3 separate regions of the Homo sapiens genome follow, and all the other regions are linked to region 1. The links are contacts of gene promoters, found by promoter capture Hi-C in blood cells and fetal thymus (Javierre and others, 2016). All regions are on one chromosome and are shown on one strand. The core of a region is centred on a gene start or on the middle of the fragment in contact, and the rest is flanking DNA. Distances in the headings are between cores, read along the strand shown.

What was found. Contacts are between HindIII fragments. The CHiCAGO score rates a contact against its expected background, and 5 or more counts as called.
Region 2: a contact is called between a fragment that was not itself captured here and the fragment with the promoter of FRMD3 in region 1, in 3 of 17 cell types (endothelial precursors, M1 macrophages and M2 macrophages). The highest score is 9.7, in endothelial precursors.
Region 3: a contact is called between a fragment that was not itself captured here and the fragment with the promoter of FRMD3 in region 1, in 1 of 17 cell types (endothelial precursors). The highest score is 5.4, in endothelial precursors.

Annotation. Positions count from the first base shown.
Region 1 is chr9:83,536,823-83,540,222 of GRCh38, reverse strand. FRMD3 (FERM domain containing 3) reads left to right here and starts at 1,822. Exons shown (of 14, transcript NM_174938.6): 1 at 1,822-2,138. The coding sequence starts at 1,992. The HindIII fragment of the contact is 8,384 bases long and covers 1-3,400 here.
Region 2 is chr9:83,200,856-83,203,943 of GRCh38, reverse strand. It overlaps a transcript of RASEF not described here and the pseudogene RN7SKP242. Among named protein-coding and RNA genes, the nearest start is that of FRMD3-AS1, 17 kb to the left of the region's middle. The HindIII fragment of the contact is 211 bases long and covers 1,520-1,730 here.
Region 3 is chr9:83,182,793-83,186,128 of GRCh38, reverse strand. It overlaps a transcript of RASEF not described here. Among named protein-coding and RNA genes, the nearest start is that of FRMD3-AS1, 35 kb to the left of the region's middle. The HindIII fragment of the contact is 956 bases long and covers 1,061-2,016 here.

The DNA of each region.
Region 1 (3,400 bases), core at 573-3,072:
CTTTTGGCTAGCAGAGATGATCCAGTTTTCAACTTGGGGCAGGTCCCATCCCTGCCACCTCATATGTGCATATGGGGATTTACAGATTACAGCTGTAAGATGTCCTCCACTGACCCGGTGTCATACCAGCTTCCCAGCCACCTGTGGGATGAACAGGTGTTCTCTCCTTTGAAATGAGAAAAGAAATGGAGAGACTTTTCAAAGATCCCCAGGATTAGCCAGTAGCTGGGCCAAGAATGAAATCCACATCTTCCCATACCCTCAATACTGACCTCTCCATCAGGATCTGCCCTAACATTTGAAGGGCCCAGCTCAAGAGCCTACATGAATGCCCCATACTATCATCTAAATATTCATAAGCAATAGTCAGCTATTGAGTGCTACATAAAACATTCTCTATCCTCCTATCTTGACAAATTGTTGCAATTTGGAATTTCCAGGAGCAGATACTGAGACTGAGTTTGTCCTGTGTGGTATTTATTAGTGATCAACAGGGAGAGGAGGCAGGAGCAGGCAGAGAGAGAAGTCCAAATGCAATGCGGACTCCCCCAAACCTTAGCCAACCCCACTAGGTGTCCTAGAGAATATATGGCCCACCAGACTGTCCAGGGCAGGTAAAATTTGTGTGCCACTCTTCCTCGACCCCCAGGACAGGGCATATCTTTGGATGAGGGGACTCTATGCAGGCACAAACCTTGAAAAAGCTGACAGCTGGTCAACACCTCCTCTTCTAACAAATGTTCCTTCCTAATGACCTGTTCTGCTCCGGCAAGAGCAACAGGGTGAGAGGACTTCCATCTCTCCCAGCTCCTGGACATTCTAGTGCTCACATTCAAGCTCCATACCCCTGACTCAACAGCTGCTCCTGGCCACTCTCGGGCCTACGGTACCTGACACAGTGGCTCTAGCCACCTTGGGGACAACAGAGAGGCAGGATACCTCCTACCTTCAACACCCTGGAGGCGCGTGGGGAATTCCAGAGTCCTCAATACCCAGAGATTGGACTAAAACGGGATGGGGCACATCCGCTTTGCCATTAGACCTCTTAATTCCTGAGCAACCGGGAACTGGAGGAGGTCTGTAAAGCAGGGGAGTAGGATAGGAACCTATCCCTCTTGCTCGGGTCAAAGGTATGCTATCAAAGATCACACTAAGATGTTGGGAGATTTAAAGGAGGATTTGCACATGGAAGGCTCTTTTTTGGAGAAAGAGACTGAGTCCTAGCTAGCATTAAATAAAACAATGGCTTAAACAATCTCCATGAGTACCAGAGATTTTTACTATTAGCGATATTCCTGGTGTAGCCGTGTCAGGGCTGTCACTCTCTCTGTCACTCGCCCTGGGCCCAGCAATCCTTTCCCGAGGCGGAATCCCCCTGGCGGTGTGGGTCAGGATCGCTCTCCGTCCCCTACCCGCGCCAGGTCCCTGGAGCTGAGCAGAGCAGGGCGCTGTCGAGCGCGTTGGGGAGCCGGGGCCGGGACGAGCACAACCGGGAGCCCGAGCGACAGCGGCCAGGGGAGGGAGGAGGCGGTGAGGCTGAGGAAGGCAGTCGGGCCCAGCTTGACGCAGCGGCGGCTGCGACTGAGCAGGCCACCACCAGGGCACCCGGGCCAGCCGCGCCAGCCATCCCTCCGCCTCCTCCTTCAGCTGCTCGGCGCGCGTGGGAGTGAGTGCGTCGCGAGCCCGCCGGGGGTCTCAGGCTCTGGGCGTCCTCGGCGAGCGAGCCCGGGCAGAGGGAGGCGCACGAGCGCGCGCGACAGAAGGAGGCGGGGAAAGGAGGGGGCGAGGCGGAGGCGAGCGAACAGAGGGAGGGACCCGCCCGCCGCGCCCCGGCCGCTGGGCATGTGTGTCCGCAGGCGCCCGACGCTGCCGATGTCCCGGGGCTGAGCCGCGCCCAGGTGTCCCGGACAGTGCGTGCGAGCGTGTGTGTCCGCGCAGGCGAGCACCGCGCCGGCCCTGAGCCTCCCGCTCGCTCCCCACGGCCGCGGTGCATGTTCGCCTCCTGCCACTGTGTGCCGAGAGGCAGGAGGACCATGAAAATGATCCACTTTCGGAGCTCCAGCGTCAAATCGCTCAGCCAGGAGATGAGATGCACCATCCGGCTGCTGGACGACTCGGAGATCTCCTGCCACATCCAGGTGCGCGTGGAACCGGGCGAGGGCGCGGGGCACACGCCGGGAGCAGGGCGGGGGGCCTTTGCGGTGGGCATGCGAGAACAAGGAACCCACTCCCGGAGGGGATTGGGGGACTGCTAGAAAGCCAGATTTCGATTCCTCAGGCCTCTGAGGGTGGGGGGCCTTATCCTGGCATGGAGGGGCATGGTGCCCTGCAAGCGCCAGGCACGCGTTATCCGCGCCCAGTCTCCTTCCCCTCGCGTGCACCCTGCGCGCGCGTCTCACTGCGCCCGGGCTAGGGGCGCGGGGCAGCTGCCTCCGGAGGGACTCTGGCCCCTCTGGGCCCTACTCCGCCAGGAGATGGGAGCTCCGAGGGCTGAGAGGGGCACCTGCATGTCGCCCACTGGTATTTCCTCCCTTCTTCCACGTGGAGAAGGCATGCATCAGCTGGGTTCACTCATTTCTGTCTCCCGCGCCCAGGCTCCGGAGACGCCCTCAGTCCCGGAACCTGCTTTCCGCTCCGTGTCGGTCCCCCTCACCCTCCGCCGGTGGTCTTTAGTTCTCCGCGTGGGGCGGTGGCGAAGTTTCCCCAGAGTGAGAGAGGCCGGGCTGCCCTGGGCGCCAGCCTTGAGGGATGGAGCGCGCGCTGCGCCGGACTGGAGCTACCTCGAAAGGAATGTGTGAAGTCTGAGTGTTTCGGAGAAAGGAAAAGGGATTGTGAGGCCAGCAAGTGGGGAGCCCTGCAGGAACCTGGGTCCTGGGTAAAAGAGCCCCGTGGAATCTTGGTGGACATTCACTGTCGCCCAAGTTGGAGGAGAAGGCGAGTTGTTTGGGAGAAGGCAGCTTTGCTGGCAGCCCTGTCCTCGGGTAGTAAGTGCCTCTGGGCTGTCAGGAGAGCTAGTGTGAGGTGCAAAGGTGTGTGTGTGCATGTGGTTGCGCGTGCGTGTGCATATTTGCTGTGGGTGAATATGTAGGCAGGTGGGAGCCCCTCTTCCAGGACCCCAAAGATGCCCCACTCGGTGCGCACACAATCAGGAAAGGTTGTGTCAGGGCTCAGCACAATTAACTTCTGACTTCTAAATCTATTTAACTGTTTATCTCTGGGATTTCCTTTCTCACCTACCCTAGTCGAGTCTTGAGGCTCTGGGACTGAGCTTTTTTTTTTTTTTTTTTTTTTTAGTGTAATACAGGGCACACCACCCATGTCAGTGGGAGGTGAGTGGGGCAGCATCTCCCAGAGTAGGAATCAGCCTCTAGGCTGTGCAAACCATGAAGGAATGAAAGGA
Region 2 (3,088 bases), core at 376-2,875, 340 kb after region 1:
TGCAGTGAATTGCCACTGCCCATAGAATAAAGGTTATCTACATCAGCATGTGTTTTGCGTTCTGAGTGTTTCCACCCCTGCCTCTCATCCTCTTGCTCCAGCCATAGGACCTCCCTTAGTTCTGCTGGCACCATGCACTTCCTCTCACCCCAGGGCCTTTGCATTTGCTGTTCCTCCTGACTGGAGTGCCCACCCATAGCCAGCTCCTCACTTACTTAAGTGATACTCACTCTTCAGATCTGAAATTTAGGACCCCAAGAGAGACCCCCACCGTACCACCTTCAGAACAGACCTGGTCTACTTACCTATTTTCTCTCAAGGCATCCTATTTTCACTTTCAACGAACTTACCTAAAATGTAATGGAATAGGCCAGGTGTGGTGGCTCATGCCTGTAATCCCAGCACTTTGGGTGGCTGAAATTGATGAATCACTTGAGATCAAGAGTTTGAGACCAGCCTGGCCAACATGATGAAACCCCGTCTCTACTAAAAATACAAAAATTAGCCAGGTATTGTGGTGAGTGCCTGTAATCCCAGCTGTTTGGGAGGCTGAGGCAGGAGAATTGCTTGAACCTGGGAGGCGTAGGTAGCAGTGAGCCAAGATGGCGCCACTGCACTGCAGCCCGGGTGACAGAATGAGAGTCCATCTCAAAAAAAGAAAAAAAAAAAGGACTGAAATAGAACATAAGGAGGGTCTACAAGGGCAAGACCAAGTCTGTCTAACTCACTAAGAGCTAGAAGTACTCAATATTTATTTAATAAATAAATGTAAAAATAAATGTAAATTTTGTAGGAACCCACACTAATTTTTAATGGATTGCTGTCGATCGTCTATTGATTATATATATGGGGCATATAATATCTATATATATAGATTCCATATATACAATAACTTCCATTTTGCTAGCTTTAACAATTAACAGTTGGGTCCATATAAGAGAATAATCTAAATATGTACATCTTTTTCTTTTAAGTACTGCTGTCCATTTACTTATTGTTAATTGACAAGTAAAAATTATATATATTATGGTGTACAACATGACGTTTTGATGTATGTATACCAGTAGAATGGCCAAATCAAGCTATTTAACATATGTAGTGCCTCACATACTTATCTTTTCTGTGGTGAGAACACTTAAAATCTAATTTCTTGGCTGGGTGTGGTGGCTCAAGCCTGTAATCCCAGCACTTTGCGAGGTGGGAGGATCACCTGAGGTGAGGAGTTTGAGACCAGCCTGGCCAACATGGCAAGACCCCATCTCTACTAAAAATTAAAACAAACAAACAAACAAACAAAAAAACAAGCCAAGCATAGTGGCGGGCACCTGTAATCCTAGCTACTGGGAAGGCTGAGGCAGGAGAATTGCTTGAATCTGAGAGGCTGAATCTGCAGTGAGCTGAGATCAAGCCATTGCACTCCAGCCTGGGCAACGGAGTGAGACTCCACCTCAAAAAAAAAATACTGCTTTCTTTTAATGCCATTTCTTGTTAAATTCATTTTAAAGTGCATTGGAAAGCTTTCTATCATTACAATGTGTGTTAGTTGTAGTTAAATATTAGCTTGACAATTGTTTTTCATTATGAATATTCATTATTTATAGTTCTGTTTTCTCTTTTGTTATCATTGTCTATTACATCTCTGAGTCATTGCAGCTGCTTGACTCATGTCTTTTAGCCAATTTTCCTTTTAAGCTGCATAGATATAGAAATTAATTAAACATACTTAAGCTTATGTGTTAAATAATAGTTAATAAGGCTTTGAATGAGAACTTAAGGAGCAAAGTGCATGTTGCTATGATGGGTGGTTTTTCTTTTTTTTTTGGACAGGAAGTAGGATTTATTGGTGGGCATTAGGAGGGAGCAGCACATGGGGAGCCCTCATGAGTGCAGGGCCTGCCACTTGTCCAGAGGGCCATAACTGGAGATGTATTTGACCCCATAGCCATCTGGGATGAGCCACTTCTCAGTCACCATGTTTTCAAATCATCTGCATGATGCAGTGTTATGTTAGCATTTTCATCTGTGTCCTGATCTGGCTTCTCGGTGCTTGAAGGAGTCAGACTTAGGAGTCTGATAATCTGGGAAGGGAGATATTATTGTATATATTCATGCCCTTAGGAGCTAAAACATTTAAAACAAAATGCTAAACTACTTGAGAATAGAACTGAAGAGACAACAAACCAAGCATGAAATCCTGCTGAGCATTTTTCCTTACTTACATATTCCAAGCATGAAATCATGCCAAGCACTATTCCTTACCTACATATTAAGTAAAATTAGATCCCAGGCAAGTAACTAATTTGTAGTGAGGAGTAGAGAAATAGAAAAAAGTCCCATTAATATTTACATTGAGTCCAACTGCTATATTGGTCCACGTGATAATACATGTTTCACTCCAAAAACATTTCTTACAATTATATTTTTTAAAAATTCTGAAATAGCACTAGATTGGTTAAGTAGTTGCCTCCAGAATCCACTTACTATTTGGGAGTGTCTCCTCCATTACCAAGGCCTCTTCCAAGAGAATATCCGAACTCTGGCATCCTCTACGTCCAAGGCATAATTCAAAATTATTTCAGCAAAACATGATGATAGGAATATGCTTTCCCCACTGCTAAGAACCCTGGATGGGCTTTTGCTTGTCATTCTCCAGCACCTTTTTGGTTGAAGGCCGAATGCAGTGGGCTGTGTGGAGGAGAACTGTGTTCCAGACAGGGACACATGGACAGTCTGGCTGTGACTTCTGTTCTGCCATCAACAGCCAGGGTACAGCAGCCTGGTCTGACTTGCTAGGCAGGTGTCCTTCTTCCACAGCTTCTCCAGGATTCTCCCAAACCTATATCATTGGGTGGGGTGGATGGCCTTTCTAGGAAGAGGAAAGCCCTCTTGCCTTCACAAGTCTACATTAGCTGCATTTCTCTGTTAGATCCTTTGATCAAACTCACTCCAGATATTGAAAGTCTTTATGTACAAAATCCTGGTCTATGGGTCTATGACCCTTTAAGAGAAGGGAGATGCTCTGGAGTGCTTGGACTCATCTTTGGAGCAAAGTCAGCTGGAGGTCATGTCCAGACTGGCAGCCTCAATG
Region 3 (3,336 bases), core at 289-2,788, 350 kb after region 1:
GAAACACAGCCACTCCCGTTAGTTTCAGCAGATCTTTCTTATGCAAATGGTTGCTCAGGCAGCCCCTATACTTATCACTGTAGCTTCACACTCAACTCAGTTGAAAGGGAAAACGACGCAGGGATAAATCAGGAATTAACACCCCCCTTGCCCCCCCCGCCACCCATTCCTCAATGCATGTGGCTACGTGACTGTGCTGGGCAATCTCCCGTGGTGGCTGCACCCCAGCATTTAACTGGGTGGAATCTCGGGGTTGCTGCAGTTTTGTGTCAGAAGTTCAGCTGAGAGAAAGTGTGCTTATGGAGGAGTGGTTGAGGCTTTGCAGTTCATCTGTTCCTCTGGGCACCTGAGATTATGTCCCTGGATTGAGTTCAGATCTTCAGGAGCTGCTTATCTCCCTGCCTTAGAGAGTCCCCTCAGAGGCATTGCATCTGGCCTGCATCAATCATCAGCTTATATTGAGAAACAGCCTTGGGAGACTCATTGTGTTTTGGGGAACATTCATGTGTGTTTTGTTGTTGGGAACATCAGACTGCAGGTTACACAGCCATCTCTCTATGAGGTTGCTCCAGGAAGTCTCACTACCAGAAATCGTGCTTCAAAGTGACTTTTCTTCTGAAGGCACAGAATTGATAATTGACTGTGCTTCTTTAGAGAGCACAGAGTCCAATCCCAGGACTTTGGAAGGCTAAGGCAGGAGGATCACTTGAGCCCAGGAGTTTGAGACCAGCCTGAGCACCGTAGGGTCTCCACAAAAAAATTAAAAAAAAAAAAAGAAAGAAAGAAAGAAAGAAAAAGAAAGCACAGGGGCCCTTTAATGGTCCACCTCTGACATGTATAAAGGATTTTGGAGGTATTTATTTTGCACTAGGCACAGTGTTGGCTCTATTAAGTTTTCCTATTCTTGCTTTGTCTTCGAAGCATTTTTTATTCCTATTTAAATTATTTTTATCATTAAAAATAATGATAAAAATGATCACTGTGCTATCTACAGACCCTTATAAGCTGTGTGAACTTGTTTTGGGATTCAGGCTTTGTAGAAAGCAGTGGTTTGTAAGCTTGACCACGTACCAGAATCACCTGAGAGGCTTGTTTTAAAACAGATTTCTGGCCCCACCCCACAGTTTGGGATTCCCTGGGTCTGGGGCAGAGCCTGGGTCTGGGCCTTTCTAACACATTCCCAGGGGATGCTGATGCTGCACGTTCCGGAACTGCCTGTGTGCCACTCTAATAAATAAAACCTCAACAACAGTTGCTGATTATATATTAGTAACCTGCCAATCAACCAGTGAAGAATTTTTTTTTTCAATTCTTATTATGCAGCTGGCACCAAACTGGACATTACAGGGTGACATGGTCCTTATCCTAAGATAATTTTCTGATAGGTTGCAGAGATGTCAAATACATGTAACTTAGAGAAAAGGGCAATGCCTAGCAAGGTGTAGATCGGGGTGGGACAGTTCAAAGTGAATTTGGTCTTTAGAGAGAAACACAGGATGAAATAGGGCTTGAACTTGTCTTTGAAGTGAAGATTGAGTTTGAGTGACAGAGTGAAGGATGGTGAGAAGGTCCTTTTCATTAGAGGACTAGCATGGGCAATGGTCCAGCAATGGAAAGAAAAAGCCCCCATAAAACCACGTAGGGGTGTGTGATGCAGAAGATGGAACTTCTCACTCCACAGAGCAGCACGCCCTCCACAGCCGTGGAGAGGGGCATTCCCCACAAGCTAACACCGCCCTCCCATCTCATTTACCCCTGCTTTCCCTTTGATCAGATCCTCCGTTATTCCCTGACAACATTCTATACTTCCCAAGGCTGTTCCTTTGCCCCCGGTGTCTCCTTCACCAATGTACACGTTTCCCCTATCTTTACCAGTCTCATAAGGTACAGCTCAAATGCTACCCACCACTTAGTAAAAATGCTTCCTTGTCCCTCCCAAGCCCTACCTTAGTGATTGGCCAATAGCTTGCATTGACAAGAACGTCATTCCTTCCCCCATTGACTTGTGGCCAAGCTTTACTCATCCTCTGTCAATTCTAGTTTCTTCTTTGCTCTTCCTCTGTGGCAACTCCTGTTCTCCAAGTGTGGTCCGTAGACCAGCAGTATTGGCTTTCCTGGGAACTTGTTGAAGTGCAAATACACCCCACCCCAGACCTGAATGGAAAACTCTGGGCATGGGGCCTGGCCATCTGAGTTTTAACAAACCCTCCAGGTGATTCTAATACATGCTGCTATATGAGGAAAGCTAATTATTGGCAAATGGCCACCAAAGCCCTCCCAGAGGGACTGCTTTCTGTTCTCTAATTGCTAACAGTCCATTTTAAGAGCTGAGATTTTGCATTTCTTACGAGACGAACAGTTTTAATTTCCTCAGCAGTTTGCTTTAAAAATAAAATGAGAATGTTTTCTCCATAAGTTTAACATTTCACTGACTTTCTTAGTAGTACAAATGCCCTGACCGCTTTTTAAAATGATTATAATTCAAACATAGATAATGAATGCTTTGGACTACTGTAACAAATTGGATAATAATAATGATTTAATGGAAGTCAAGCTATCTAACAGTGGGAAGAAAAACCCTGCTGATTAATTTCGTTTTTCTAAAACTCATGTTCATTTATAGTATATTCATACCAAAAGTATTCCAGTGCCTTGCTTACTCCATGTCTAGTTCATATACTTTCTTATAGGAAGAATTGGAAAAATTACAAGGAACTCTTATCTAAAAATACTACATTGTTCAAAGATGTGAAATATATTGCTTATTTTCTAGTAAAATTGTAACTGCTTGGCCATATACAGAGTATGTAGGAATTTTGTTTTCCACAAAAACACAAATTTGTATATATATATATATATATATATACACACACACAAATCTGTGTATCTGTGAGATCCAGTTTATATTCCTTTTATGTTTTTTTCTTTTTAAACTTTATTGAAGTACAATTAACAAAAGAAAAATGCATCTGTTTAAAGGATCCATTGGATATAGAATATAATTTGATTAGCTTTGATAGCTACACTCATGGAACTGCCGTCACAATTAAAATATAGAACATTTCTGTTACTGTCCCAAGTTTCCTTGTTTACCTTTGCAGTCTATCCCACCCTTCACCCCGGTCTTAGGCAATAAAAATGGAGTAACAGCTATGTGTACTCTTTTGTGTCTGTCTTCTTTCGCTTGGCGTGATGATTTTGACATTCATCCTTTTGTTGCATATATTGCATATATTAGTAGTTCATTCCTTTTCATTGCTAAGGTATGGCACATTCCATGATATGGATATATCATGTTTTGTTTATCCAAAAATAAAAATTTAAGTTTCTTTCCAA